2 separate regions of the Homo sapiens genome follow, and region 2 is linked to region 1. Evidence: promoter capture Hi-C in human tissues and cell types (Jung and others, 2019). All regions are on one chromosome and are shown on one strand. The core of a region is centred on a gene start or on the middle of the fragment in contact, and the rest is flanking DNA. Distances in the headings are between cores, read along the strand shown.

Region 1 (7,822 bases), core at 3,102-5,601:
TGTTGAGATAACTTGCGGTGCTATGGTTCAGGCTGGATTGCAGTGGCACAATCTCCGTTCACTGCAACCTTCACCTCCCAGGCTCAAACTATCCTCCCACCTCAGCCTCCCAAGTAGCTAGGACTAGAAGCACACACCACCACACCCCGCTAAAAACTATAACTTTTCTTGCAAAGAGAACATGCAGACAGAGCATTTGAGAAACAAATTACACTTACATACAAGTGATAGGTCAGCCTACTCGTTCAAGTCTTGGGGGTGGGTCATTTGTTGTTCAGACCTAGCCGGTAGTGCGATGGCCCATTCCACAGCTGCAAGACGCGGCAATACTCTCAAGCCAACAGTAGGTGGAGTTAGTGGGAAATTTGAGAATTGCTGGCTAGGTGCACGTGAAGTATGGGCATGAAATTTTGACTGCCACAAAGCCACAGATAAAGGATAATCTAAATGCTCTTGCTACAGTGATTTGGCCATGTCTTGTATTTTTTAAATCTACAACTATTTTTTATTATTCGGTAACACTTTTCTTCTTTAAATTTTGTAGATAGAAGAAAAGGAAAATAAGCCAAAAATAAAAGCTCATTTTTTAATGAAAAAAACAAAAGTTGGGTTCTGAATTTCTACCACTAAATCCGGTTGATGGTGACTGCATGAACTTGTACAACAATTTGATGATATTTATTATTCAACATGAGAGTAGGTGATATCATTGACCACATGAAAAGTGAAAGACATAGTTTTACTGAAGATACATCAGTATCTACTTCAAAAGACAGAAAAATGTTTAAGAAGACCAAGTCCTAAGATGATTATTTACTATTAACAGTTGCAAAAAGTGTGTCAATACATCACCCTGATACAGACATTTTCATTTAGGTCAAATAACTGTTTTAAGTCATTTTCACTCGTGTTAAATTATACATATTCTTGTGCATGTACAGAAAATAATTGAACCAATAGTTAATGACATGCCCCTCCAGTAGCAGGAAAAACAAATCACTAGGGATTAAATGAATTCAGTTTTATATTAGAACTGTCAAATGCTTCAAACAGAAAATAAATTAATTCCAATAATGTTTTGATTTCTTCGCCTAGCCCCCCCAAAAGAGTAAAGCTATAAAAAGTTCATAATGTTCTGTTTGATAAAGCTAATGTAAAGTTATTTTAAAAGTTCAACATTGAAGATGAGATTATCTGTTGTATCCATAATGATAAAAAGTACAAATTTTGGTAAGGACATCATGGTAAAGAAAATAAGAGTCCTGTGGAGAAGACGCACATTTTTAATTGTGGTGAATACATAACTCACTTTGTATCCGAATAAGCTGCAATATTCTATCAATAAAAGTAGAAGATATAATTTGAAAAATTTTAAAACACTTTGTATATACTCTAAATTGTACTGGCAATCAATACTTTTCCTTACCTTGTTAATCACCATGTTCACGTTTTTCTACTGTATTATCTTTGAGCTCTTGTTTCATTTATTTTAAGCAATAATTTGTATTGTTTTATACAGAAAAGTAAATGAAAGGAATTTCCTTATGTTTATCAATATTTTTTACACATTGTATGCTGCTTCTGCATTCTATATTATTAGTTTACTCAAGAACATTGCCATGAATTCACTCTGATTGATTCCATCCCCCTTCAGTCCAATCTCACCAAAATGGGAATCTGATTTACGTTATTAGTGAGATGTTGCAAGAGTCTGCAATTTCACCATTCTTGTTCATAATGCTTGGTATTATTGAAGGCAGAACTTTATATCTATCATCTTGGATCCTAAATCTGAAAAAACTAAGTTACACTCATGATAATAATTAAAATGTTAAGATATGTCATAGAACTCAGAATTCATAACATTTTCTTCCTGAGATGCCATTGATTATTTTTCTATTACTCTACTATTTGTTATAACCGTTAAAATGTTATTTAAATAAATTAGTTTACCTTCTTTGGAGCTCTTCTCCTAAACTCTAAATTTATTTGTATTTTCATTCTTTATTACTGATACTACTCATGAGGCTACACAAATAAATCCAATAGTGGATCATCTCCATTTAGATGAATAGTAATTCTGCAGTATTTCTGTACTACTAGAAATACTAAGTGTTCCTTGGTTGAACTAGGAGTTGTATTTTTTAATAAAAAGAAAAGAAAAACCAGAAAAGAGTAACAAAACAAGATTCATTCAAGAGATCATATTCTACCAGGTCTTTGATCTGTAAGCCTTGGCCAGTTTTAAATCCTTTTAGAGTTTCCATTCCCCCATGCCTGTAAAGGTCTATAGTATACAGTATTTGTCTTTCTCACAGGGATGTTAAGTATTAAGGGAAAATCTGTTACCTGATAACTCTTTTGCCTTCTTGTGTGGTATACACTCACCTATGACCACAAGCATAGCAATGCAAACCATTTTATGTTGGCTTCAACCACCTTTGTGTGGACAACATCTGCCCTCAGTCATATGCAACGCCACTTTTACTGTACCTGGGTTTCTTCCAGGTCACAACTAGGAAAACAGAAGGTGCCCACTGTGATTCTTTCCTTGCATAATTATAAGGTTCCTGAAAATTACACATCTTGGATATTGTTCAGCCAATGGGAGAAAGAAGCGGATGGATAAATGTTTTTCCATGTTGATCTGATCCTGTGGGGGACAATTCCAAGAGTCATTCTACATGCTCCTAAAAGGTCCTTACAAGATTTAGCCAAGTTGCTCTCCATAAAATAAACTCGAAAATGCACCCTTTCTTTAGATTTTCCTCTTTGATTCTTTCATCTTCCATAGTGTCTCATACTTGCTTCCTGGGATCTTGTGCCACATAAACTGTTTGCACCCAAATCTTTGACATTAGCCTTGTTCTGGGGAGAAGAGGAGGATCCAGAGTAAGACTAATGGATATAAATGCTTGTTCAGCATGGCTCAGGTGTGTTGCTGTCAGCTTGATTAAGGTTGAGCCTTGAAGAAGCATCGGTAGGTTACCGAAGCCTCCTGGACCCAATAATTCCCACTTAAGATCATTGGTGAATGATCCTGACTCTCCTTACCAGTGGGAGGCAGGAAACCTGGCACTTAAGTCTACTAACAAAGAGCAAAGCGTCTGTCCTAGCAGTGCTTAAGCTTCACTTTTCTCTTGGTTGAAAATCCACATTCAGATACTAGACTTTAAGTAACCTTTAGTGCAAGCATACAGTTTACCTTATAAATTACATCCTAGTCTTGTTGTCTGCATTTCTAGTTTATGCATCAAATTTTCTGCTTTCCTATATCAGTAGAAATGCATGTCCTTCATTCTTAGACAATTCTCACTGCTGTTGAGACAAGTCTGCAGATGCAAACTATGTTCTTCCAGAAATGATTACTCTTAATAGACAACATACCTAATTTCAAGAGAAATGTTCTCAGATCTGTCAGATTATATGGGCCCCAAATCCAGTTACACAGTCATATTGATTTTTACTTAAATCTCCCAAATTCTTGAATGCAAAAATGTAAGCAAAATAATAATAATAAAATAATAACAATGTGAACAATATATTTGGGTACCAGATTACATACATTTATTAGATTAAAATTTCCATTTTCAACAGTTTTTGGATGAAAATCAGATAGCATATATTCGATCAATGGTAAAGATATTAGAAGTTAATATTAGGTTACTCATTAATTTCGCAGTCTGCCAGAAGTTGGTCATGCAAGAAGCTGGTGGTGGAAGAATAAAAAGATATTGGGATCTGGCAAGAATGAAAATAATGGCTGCATTCAGTAGAGACTTTGATCCCAATACTCAAAAGGATCTAGAAATTTAGCAGGTGAATTGATAGAAGCGAGATCCACAGATTGGTCTGTAACAAGAAGACTGCCAGGCTCCAGAAGCCAAGTAGTTTGGGTAGCAGAATCTGGATCCGTAACTCAGGGAAGGAAAACCACAGCCTCCATATTTCAGGAATCTGAAGCCACTGGATCCATTTCCCAGCGAGTAGCAGCACCTAGATCCATAGCCCTGGGAGCGACAGCTGCTGGACCGAAAGCCTAGAGATCCAGAGCAAGTCGTCTGACAGGGACAGCAGAGGATGGAGGTCCTGGGGCGGTAGCAGGATTTCTGGCAGCTGGCGGGCTCCCAGCAGGTCTTCTGACAGTCCCTGTAGAGAGAGGAACGCAGCTGGCAGGTGCTGGGAGAGCAGAGGGCAGTGCTGTAGACCAGGCTGCTGGGGTAGGAGCCTGGGTAGTACAGGTAGCCCCCAAAGGAGCGGGAGGAGAAGTTTCTAGAGCAGCAGTTGTAGGACATGCTGATGAGAGATGGGAGTTCAGCTGAGTGTACCTAAGAAGATTCTGAGTTTTAATGTCGCATCCTGGACAAGGGCATTTATATCCTCTCAGCAATAGGTGTGGTGCCCAACAGGGTCATCCTTTACATATTTGTGATCCCTCATTTACATATGTGTAACTGCGTAATCTTGTCTGTAATTGCATTTGAATAGTTTTCCATGTATTGTATTTATGGGTGCTATAATTTTCGTGTTATAGCACAAAGCCAATGAACTGTACTTATGTCAGAAATGCTATGACTGTTTTATATTAATGTCTAGCTCATCATGACAAGGAAAGCTCTTCCTATTTCTTTGGCACATGCTAACTGCCTCTTTTCCTGTGTATTCACATCTGGCTTTGCTAGTAGATGTTTTCCTCTTAAGAGTGGGGAATGAGATAACGTTAGTTTCTTTCTGGTGCAATTTCCACCTGGATGAGAACCTTTGTGAAAATGATCCATCTTGTCACCATTGATTGCTATACTCCAAAATTACTTTGTGGTGATTTTTTAGGGCGGTAAGAGTAAATTAATACATTAAGTACTACAGTTATAAAGTCTGTCTCATATCCAGTGAAGAAAGATCAAGAACAGGCAAAGCAAAGAGATAGAAAGAAATGGCTAGAAATTGAAAGAAACCTTGCCATTTATTTAAAGACGAGATAACAAAAAGAAGCTCGATTGAAACACAGTCACAGAGAAGATCAATTTGAGGTCATGTCTCTTCAGCCAAAGAGCCCGAATGCTTGTCTGCTGAAGGGAGGAAACAAGTGAAAGAGAAACAAAGAGAAAGCTCAGGAATTTCAGAATTTTTTTTCCTATTGCATTCCAGCTGTCATGTGTCTTGTCTCAATGTCTTTATGAGCAAAAATTTTCAAAATTAGCAAATCTTATGAACTTTGATATATTTATCATCTACTTTTGTAATTATACAGGACTTCTACCTTCTTAGAATGGCTCTAGCTTTCCATATTACTGGCTTTCAGTGTCTTTTTGCCACTTGTAGAACCAGGTACCATCCTACATTTTCCTGTGAAAATGTGAAGTTTCTTTGTTCCCCAGTCCTCTTTTCCTCTGCATGGTATATGAATGTTTCTCTCTTATTTTCTCTCTCTCTTCCTCTGACTTTCTTTCCCTCTATTTTTCTTTCTTTTTTCTGTGCTTAAGTTTGATTTTATCTTTTTTCTTTTTTTTACTTGTTATATTTTATGTTTTGTTCATGTGTTTGTTTGCCTCTGCTGAATTATAGATTCCATGTTGAAAAATAAAAATTGGACAGCTTTGTCGTATTCTTTGAGGATAGCCACTTTGTAAGTTCATTCACAAAATATTCTATGTTGAAATACAAGTAGTTAAATTATATTCAGGACCAAAGAAAGTGTACTGTCATGGTTGATGACATTTTATTTTATAATAAAATATAATAAACTTACAACAATAATGTTAGACATTTTCTCGATTAAATTTTCTCAATTAAAATGTATGGCAATATTGAAAAGTAACTTAATATAGGCCTTCCAGAAGGAAGAATGAAGAAAGAAGCAAATATGGCCAATTCAAATATCTATTCAGTGAGTTACTTTCTATTTTTCAATGGCAGTTGATTTCCCCTAACCTTGTACCTTAGTAAGTAGGTTTGGAAACTATTCCTTCCCCATTTTCTTTTGTTTCAAATGTAACTCTTTAAAATAATCTTGAATACAAAACTTATGAGTTAAATGGAGAGCATGAATTTATTCAGGCAAAACTAAGGGATTTAGTGAATTTGTCTTCAGTTAATCCAGGCTCCTTATTCAAAAATCCTTCTCTGAACCAGTTATTGTGAAAAGAGGTGTTCTTCCCTTCTCTCTGCCTCTAAATCTCTAAAACTTTGTCCACATTAATTTGATAGAAGTTTAAGAAGAACTTGTAAATGCCACAACTTTGGACTCACTTCATCTTGGAGATCATATTATTTGTTCTGTTTAATATGGAGCCTCATCATTGTTGTTTCTTTTTTTGACTGAATTATTTATCAACAATTAAAAATTGAGATCTTTCACATAAAATATATGGCTCAGGGATATACATCAAAAGGCTTCTGATCTTTTGACAGATGATTCTCTTCACTGGGCTATGAATAATGGCTTTGGATATTTGAGATATGTTTTCAACAGAATCTCATCCATAGTTGAAAATTACAACGTTTGGCACCTACCTGCTTCTCTTTTCAAAATAACCAGGCAACTTGTCACTAACATGCTGGAAAATCTTGCTTTCACTAACCATCCAGGTTACAACCTCAATAAGCAAAAGCCAATACTTCTATATAAAGATTGAAAATAGAAAAAAGAGTATAAGCCATATGTAATGTAGTTAAAAAGTGTACCTTGCTTATAATTGGAATCTAAGCAAAAGAAAGATGAGAGGATGGGGCAGAAGCAATATTTGAAGAGAGTACAGTTGGGAATTTACCAATCTTGATAAAAGACATCAACTCACACGTGAAATAATAGGAGAATGGTGTAGATCTAGTCTAACTAAGGTGGAGATGGCTGAAAAAATGAGTTTTAGCAGATATTACCTGGAGACAGTCTGAACATAAGCTCCAAAACTAAACTCAAAAGTTTGTTTATTGTTTCTCTAAATCATTGAACAACTGAAATAATTTTTTTTTTGTTTACCCTGATTGGCATACTCAAGATAAAATGTTCAGTTTAAATTTTTTGCTATCCTTCAAAAAATTGGTTTACTTTTTGTATTAGTCTATTCTCACACTGCTATAAACTACTACCTGTGACTGGGTAATTTATAAAGAGAAGAGGTTTAATTGACTCACAGTTCTGCAGGCTGTACACGAAGCACGGCTGGGGAGGCTTCAGGGAACTTACAATCATGGCAGAAAATGAAGGAGAAGCAGGCAGTCCTACAAGGGAAGCAGTAGAAAGAGTGAAGGGGGAAGTGCTACACATTTTTAAACAACCAGATCTCATGAGAGCTAACTCACTAGCACGAGAACAGCAAGGGGGAAATCCACCCCCATGATCCAATCATCTCCCACCAGGCCTTCCCCAACACTGGGGATTACAATTTGGCCTGAGATTTGGGCAGGGACACAAATCCAAACAGTATCACTTTTTAAAAAGTATAAACAAGATTAAATATTTACAGATTTTCTGCATTTTTTCTCTTTCCAGAGTCTCCCCTGAGAGAGGCTGGGAGAGTTGTAAGATTTGGACATAGGTCTGGCCCAAGTGAAGGAGAAAGAGAAAGAAGTGCTTGAGACCTATGCAGGAGACAGTAGTTCTTTAAGGCCGTTGAGGAAACCCTGAGTCAAAGCTGGCCGTCAATTGTCTTCCAGGAATTCCTATATCCCACTGTGCTCAGTCTTTGCTTGGGAGCAGCCCAGAGAAAGCAAGCCTTCCCCAAAAATGCAGTGTTAACTTTTAGAACACAGCAGGTAGGACCACTGGTTATTTAAGCCTCCTGTAATTTAAGATCCGAGATGAGAATTCTCCAGGCTGCCA
Region 2 (7,822 bases), core at 2,514-5,013, 65 kb after region 1:
TGGAAGCATCATGCTACCTGACTTCAAACTATACCACAAGGCTACAGTAACCAAAACAGCATGGTACCAGTACCAAAACAGAGATATAGATCAGTGGAATGGAACAGAGCCCTCAGAAATAATGTCACATATCTACAACTATCTGATCTTTGACAAACCTGAGAAAAACAAGCAACGGGGAAAGGATTCCCTATTTAGTAAATGTTGCTGGGAAAACTGGCTAGCCATATGTAGAAAGCTGAAACTGGATCCCTTCCTTACACCTTACACAAAAATTAATTCAAGATGGATTAAAGACTTAAATGTTAGACCTAAAATCATAAAAACCCTAGAAGAAAACCTAGTCAATACCATTCAGGACATAGGCATGGGCAAGGACTTCATGTCTAAAACACCAAAAGCAATGGCAACAAAAGCCAAAATTGACAAATGGGATCTAATTAAACAAAAGAGCTTCTGCACAGCAAAAGAAACTACCATCAGAGTGAACAGGCAACCTACAGAATGGGAGAAAATTTTTGCAATCTACTCATCTGACAAAGGGCTAATATCCAGAATCTACAAAGAACTCCAACAAATTTATGAGAAAAAAAACAAACAACCCCATCAAAAAGTGGGCGAAGGATATGAACAGACACTTCTCAAAAGAAGACATTTATGCAGCCAACAGACACATGAAAAAATGCTCATCATCACTGGCCATCAGAGAAATGCAAATCAAAACCACAATGAGATACCATCTCACACCAGTTAGAATGGCAATCATTAAAAAGTCAGGAAACAACAGGTGCTGGAGAGGATGTGGAGAAATAGGAACACTTTTACACTGTTGGTGGGACAGTAAACTAGTTCAACCATTGTGGAAGACAGTGTGGTGATTCCTCAGGGATCTAGAACTAGAAATACCATTTGACCCAGCCATCCCATTACTGGGTATATACCCGCAGGATTATAAATCATGCTGCTATAAAGACACATGCACACATATATTTATTGCGGCACTATTCACAATAGCAAAGACTTGGAACCAACCCAAATGTCCAACAATGATAGACTGGATTAAGAAAATGTGGCACATATACACCATGGAATACTATGCAGCCATAAAAAATGATGAGTTCATGTCCTTTGTAGGGACATGGAGGAAGCTGGAAACCATCATTCTCAGCAAACTATCGCAAGGACAAAAAACCAAACACCACATATTCTCACTCATAGGTGGGAACTGAACAATGAGAACACTTGGACACAGGAAGGGGAACATCACACACCGGGGCCTGTTGTGGGGTGGGGGGAGGGGGAAGGGATAACATTAGGAGATATACCTAATATAAATGACAAGTTAATGGGTGCAGCACACCAACATGGCACATGTATACATATGTAACAAACCTGCACGTTGTGCACATGTACCCTAGAACTTAAAGTATAATTAAAAACAAACAAACAAACAAACAAACAAACAAAATGTATCGTTGGGCAGGGCATGGTGGCTCATGCCTGTAATCCCAGCACTTTGGGAGGCCAACGTGGGTGGATCACAAGGTCAGGAGTTTGAGACCAGCTTGGCCAACATAGCGAAACCCCGGCTCTACTAAAAATACAAAAAATTAGCCAGGCATGGTGGCTGGTGCCTGTAATCCCAGCTACTTGGGAGGCTGAGGCAGGAGAATCACTTGAACCTGGGAGGCGGAGGTTGTAGTGAGCCAAGATTGCACCATTGCACTCCAGCCTAGGTGACAGTGTGAGACTCTGACTCAAAAAAAAAAAAAAAAATATGTCATCAAGTGCAGAGCTACTCATTGACTTTGGTGTAAATAGGTAATTAAAAATTTTTATTAGACATAAAGGTCCTATGAGTCTGAATTATGCCATTAGCATTGAAGGTGGACTACTAATTCATCTTTAAATAATGCGGAATGAGTAAAATGTGGATTAAAAAAAATCATTTGAGAAAACAAACTAAAGGGGTCACAGTAGCATGGACAGTAAGAAAGTCCTGGGAGCTAGAGGCTCATAACTTCAAGTGTGGAAGGCACCAGGCCTTGCAAGGAGACATCTGAGCACAGAGAAATGTTTAAAATGCAGCAATCCCAAGATAGAAGGAAGGGGTGTCCAGTGACATAGAGAATCTAGTTCTGTAGTGACTTGAAGAATCTCCACCATTCTAATGCAATCTTTAAGTGGAATGCAAACAATTGAGACAGGGAGGCAGAGAGTAAAGGAGAAAATTAACACATTGGAATACTTTCAATATTTAAACCTTTCAAAGTATAATGTGAAGATTCAGATTTCAGGGATCAGACAAAATAAATATTCTTTGCCTCCTCCATTTTCTGCATGAATAATCTTCCCTTAATATCTCATCTCTGCTAATCTCCAACTATTTTTTATTTTCCTCTCTCACCTTTTCTCTTTGCTTTTCTTCTTTCTCTCCTTCTCTCTGTGATTTTTCAGTTTTTATGTACACTCTGCTCCTCTCCACACTCACCCTTTAGGGTGCTGTCAAGTTAGGCACCTGGTAACTGTGGGTCAACGCCTAAGTTGTATGAGGGTAACAGAGAGTGTAATGGAAGGCTGACTCCCATCACTGGCTAAGAAAAAGCAGAGTGGAAAAGATAAGTTGCTTTCAAGCTCACTTATAATTATTCCACTCCTAATGACCTTAATATACCAAGTGACATCAGCTCTTTGTTCTAATTCAGCTCACTAGATGTGTTTGAGCTTTAACTTTGCACTAGAGCTCTTCTGTGAAAAGTGCTGAGAGCTTAGAAAAGACCAATGTCACTAGACTCATGTCTCTCACTAGTGAGAGAGACAAATTTCCTCCTATGATTTTGGTGTGAAGGATGCGTGAGAAGAGAGCGCCAGCAAGAGGAAACTGCGTAAGCGGTGGCATAATTGCTTGGAAGAATACAGTGTGGGTTTCGGGGACAAAACTACAAGTTCCTTTTTTATTAAACTGGGAAATGTGGTCAGCAAGAGGTAGAAGACTACATAATAATAAGTAAGTGTGATTGTCCAATTCTACAAATCCAGAAATAGAGACGGAAACAACACGGATGCCATAGAGGGCCTCAGCTTTGTGTCTGGGGTGGCAAGATGTCAACGATAAACAATTAAAAAAATAAACTTCACATTTCATATGTGGGAGTGGTTTTGGGGGGCTCATGTTATTCTTAGATATCAAAGTTTATGTAACTGGAGACTTAGTTACAATTAGCAGTCTAATAAAGTATTAACAAGCAGAAGCTCAGGGTTGCAGACTATTACTTGAGAGGCACCACAGTATGAATTAAGAAAACATCAGGTATCTACTGTTCAAGTCCAGAATTCTCTATCCAGCTGTTCAAAAGAAATCATTCATGGTTAATCCAATCCTAATATCTCATCTCTGTTGATCTCCAACTATTTTTATTTTCTTTTTTTTTCTCACTATGTCTTGCATGCTGCTTCCCTGGAACTTAAAGAAAGGGAAGGCAAACGTTTAAAATGTGATACAATATAAAACATAATAGTATTAAGATAAATTTTTAAAAAGGTAAAGTCACAATTCTTACACAAATGAAAAAATCAACACATATAAAAATTTTTATTTAACTCATTAATAAATGTGGGGACCACTAAGATGCTACAACTGGTTCAAAGCATAATTCAGAGAACACTTAGACAGGTTGTTAGGAAGTTTGAAATGAATCCACAGATAGATGCAAAGTAGTGCTGTACGCAGAGTAAAAATCAGTATCATTCCACTTGACAGAAACTATTTCATTTCTATGGACTAGAATCATTTGCATTATTAACAATTTTATTCAACTTACAGAATTATATAGGAGTTAAAAAGCAATAATACGTGACAATACCTTGAAAAATGAACTAGACAGGCCACATAGTAATACATTTCCCCCATTTCAAAATCCCACAATTTTTTCTGACAACAGTATGTGAAATCAGTAATGTTAATTGTAAAACTTAGTAACAGATGTGCTACAAAAGTCTGAATATCATTTTTCCTTTAATATGGAAACTGAGGAGGAAAAGAAATTATGCATATCATTTCCTGGAAAGAATTACTTTACCTTATCAATTTATGCCTTTTTTCTTTTTCTCATCTTTACTGAGGTATAGTCTACAAAAATTATATAAATTTAAGGAGTAAAAATTGATGTTTTGAGATACACACACTGTATATAATATATACACATATTGTGAAATTGTCACAGTCAAGGTAATTAATATAGTTATAATTTCAGTTTCCATTTGATTGATCATTTGACTATGGCAAGAACACTGAGGTCTACCCTTTCTGCAAATTTTAAGTATACGATACAATATTGTTAACTACAGTCACATTGCTATACATTAGATATCCAGAACTTAATTGTCCTGCATAACTGAAACTTTTTACCCTTTGACCAACACCCTCCCAATTTACCCTCCGCCCAGGCCCTGACAGCTACCAGTCTAGTCTCTGCTTTTGTGAGTTTAACTAGTTTCGATTTCTACATACATGACATCATGTAGTATTTTCCTTTCTGTGTCTGGCTTATTTCTCTTAGCATGATGTCCTCCAGGTTCATCCAAAATTTTGACATTTCTAATGGCACTGCTTCTACTTGTGACTTGGGGAAAAAATGACATAATTACATAAATGTGTCGTATTTTGACTTGATCTTTCTTTCTGCTCTATACCACCACTTGCACCACTCACCTCAAATGCTGCATTACTGTCTAGTGTTGTTGTCTAGAAAACACAAGCTTCCATTTTTAATTTCATATATAACTAAATTAAACATTTTATAAATATAAAAGGACAAAATATGTGGCTCATATTTCTGCCTCATTACATGAACATTGTAATTCATACACATGGTGCATGCCTGTAGTCCCAGCTCCTTGGGAAGCTGAGGCGGGAGTATTGAAGCCAGGAGTTCCAGGCTGCAATGAGCTATTGATTGCACCATTGCAATCCAGCCTAGGCAGCAAAGCAAGACCCTGTCTCTAAAAAAAAAAGAAAAAATGTTAATCATAAATGGAAGAATTTTTCTTCTGGACTGTGGTAGTGGTTACACTAATCTATACATTAGATAAATTACATTGAACCATACAGATACAAACACAAATGAGTACATGTATAAACCAGCAAAACTCAATAAGGTCTGTAGTCTAGCGAACAACATGGCACCAGTGTCAATTTCCTAGGTTTGATTTTGTAGTATGGTTAAATAAGTTGGCAATATTGCAGGAGGCTGTGTGAAGGGACTCTAGGTACTATTTGTACAACTTCATGTGAGCCTATGATTTTTTTTTTAAGTTTAACAAAAGTTAGTCACGTGTGGAGAACATAAGTAGATTATTCATTAGTAAGATGTGTTATAAGGTTTTTAGTTGGCATTTCTGGAAGATTAGTATAAGAATACTAAAGTCTGTTAACTAAAGTGAGAAGATGCAGTTATTGATGTATGGAAACTCTTCTGTTCTAAAGTTCTATTTTATTTTATTTTTATAGATTTAAGGGTAAACATGCAGTTTTGTTACATGAATATATTACGTAGTGTGAACTCCAGGCTTTTAGTATATCCATCACTCAGATAGTTTATATTGTAGGTAATTTTTCATCCCTCACCCCTCTCCCAATCTCCCAACTTTTGGAGTCTCCAAAGTCAATTATTCCACTCTGTATATCCAGGTATACACATTGTTTAGCTCGCAATAATAAGTGAGAGCATGTGGTATTTGACTCTGTTTCTTAGTCATTTCACTTAGGATAATGGCTTCCATTTCCATCTATTTTGCTGCAAAAGACACAATTTTATTCTTTTTTATGGCTGAGTAGTATCACATTGCATTTATATATCACTTTTTAAAATTCAGTCATTCATTGATGGACACTTTGGCTGATTCCATGACTTTGCAATGGTGAATAGTGTTATGATAACCATACCAGTGCAGGGGATTTTAATATATATAACAATTTCTTTTTCTTTGTGTAGACACCCAATAATGGGATTGCTAGATCAAATGGTGTTCTATTCTCAGCTCTTTGAGGAATCTTCATACTGTTTTCCATAAAGTTTGTACTAATTTACATTCCTACCAACAGTGTTCCCTTTTCTCTGCATCCTTGCCAACATCTGTTGTTTTTTGACTTTTTAATAACCATTCTTATTACTGTAAGATGGTATCTTAATGTGGTTCTAATTTGCATTTCTCTAATGATTAATGATGTTGAGAATTTTTCCACGTTTGTTGGCTGCTTGTATGTCTTCTTTGGAAAAATGTCTGTTCATGTCCTTTGCCCACTTTTTGATAGTGGTTTTTTTTTTTTTCTTGTTGAGTTGTTTGAGCTTCTTGTAGATTCTAGATATTAGTCTTTTTGTGGACACATAGTTTTCAAATATTTTCTCCCATTCTGTAAGTTGTCTGTTTACTCTGTTGACAGTTTCTTTAGGAGTGCAGAAGCTTTTCAGTTTAATTAAGTCCCATTGGTCTATTTTTGTTTTTGTTGCATTTGCTTTTGCGGTCTTAGTCATAAATTCTTTGCCTAGGTCAATGTCTAGAAGAGATTTCCTACATTTTCTTCTGGGGTTTTTATAGTTTCAGATATTACATTTAAGTTTTTAATCCATTTTGAGTTAATTTTTGTATACAGTGAAAGATATGGATTCAATTTCATTCTTCTGCATATGACAATCCAGTTTCCCTAGCACCATTTATTGAACAGGGTGTCCTTTCCCTTGTGTATATTTTTGTTGACTTTGTCAAAGATCAGTTGATTTTAGGTATTTGGCTTTATTTCTGTGTTCTCTATTCTGATCCATTGATCTATTTGTCTAGTTTTATACAGTACTATGCTGTTGTGTTTATTATAGCCTTGTAGTATAATTTAAAATCAAGAAATGTGATGACCCAGCTTTGTTCTTTTTACTTAGGATTGCTTTGGATATTGGGGCTCTTTTTTGATTCCACATGAAGTTTAGGTTTCATAATTCTATTAAAATGATGTTGTTATTTGATAGGAATTGCACTGAATCTGTAGGTTGCTTTGGGCAGTAAGGTCATTTTAATGATACTGATTTTGCCAATCCATGAGTATAGGATGCTCTTCCATTTGTTTGTATCATCTATGATTTCTTTCATTAGTGTTTTATAGTTCTCCTTGTAGAGCTCTTTTACCTTCTTGGTTCAATGTATTCCTAGTTATTTTTGTAGCTATTGTAAATGGAATTGAGTTGATGATTCGTTTCTCAGCTTGATTGTTATTGAAGAAGATGTAGTTACTGATATAGGAAGTTCTTAATCTAGTAAGGGTAGCTATAGAAGTAGTGAGCAAAGTCAAAGAATTAGAAATTGCCCTAAGTTTTTTCTTTTCTTTAATGTTTGCCACCTATTTTAGTAGGTATCCCTTTAATCTCCAGTTAGTTTCCTGAACTATACCAGTAATACCATTCCATTCCAATCTCAAATGACTAAAGCCCTTCTCCTCAAATGTTAATTGCTTGAGACACTGGTTTTAAGAAATATTAATAGATTGGATACAAAGTTTATATTTATATGATTAATTTGGGCTAACCACATTAATCAGATTTGTTTTTATCCTTTTTAAAAGTTTGTTAATATGCTCAAGTGTTTTATGACTTTCCAAAAGAATGAGAGGGAGAATTCTAGTTTTCTTCTTCTGGACAGTGGAGTTGAAAGAAACACAACACTGTTTTTCCCAAGTTTCTTTGGGCTAGATAATATTGTAATTTTCAGTCAAACAAATTTTAGTTAAAATCTATACTCAAAGTAATGAGTGATTGCCCTCATTTCAGGGCATTTC

Evidence for each region. Contacts are between HindIII fragments. The study calls those that stand out against the background at their distance.
Region 2: a fragment that was not itself captured here is called in contact with the fragment with the promoter of KRTAP13-4 in region 1 in 2 of the 25 tissues and cell types used here (dorsolateral prefrontal cortex and mesendoderm cells).

The regions. Positions count from the first base shown.
Region 1 is chr21:30,426,749-30,434,570 of GRCh38, reverse strand. It overlaps KRTAP13-4 (keratin associated protein 13-4), which reads right to left and starts at 4,351. Exons shown (of 1, transcript NM_181600.3): 1 at 3,545-4,351. The coding sequence starts at 4,295. The coding sequence ends at 3,813. The region is part of intron 3 of LOC105372772 (a long non-coding RNA gene); the gene reads left to right. The HindIII fragment of the contact is 9,351 bases long and covers 1-7,649 here.
Region 2 is chr21:30,361,230-30,369,051 of GRCh38, reverse strand. No RefSeq gene overlaps it. Among named protein-coding and RNA genes, the nearest start is that of KRTAP13-2, 7.1 kb to the left of the region's middle. The HindIII fragment of the contact is 3,695 bases long and covers 1,916-5,610 here.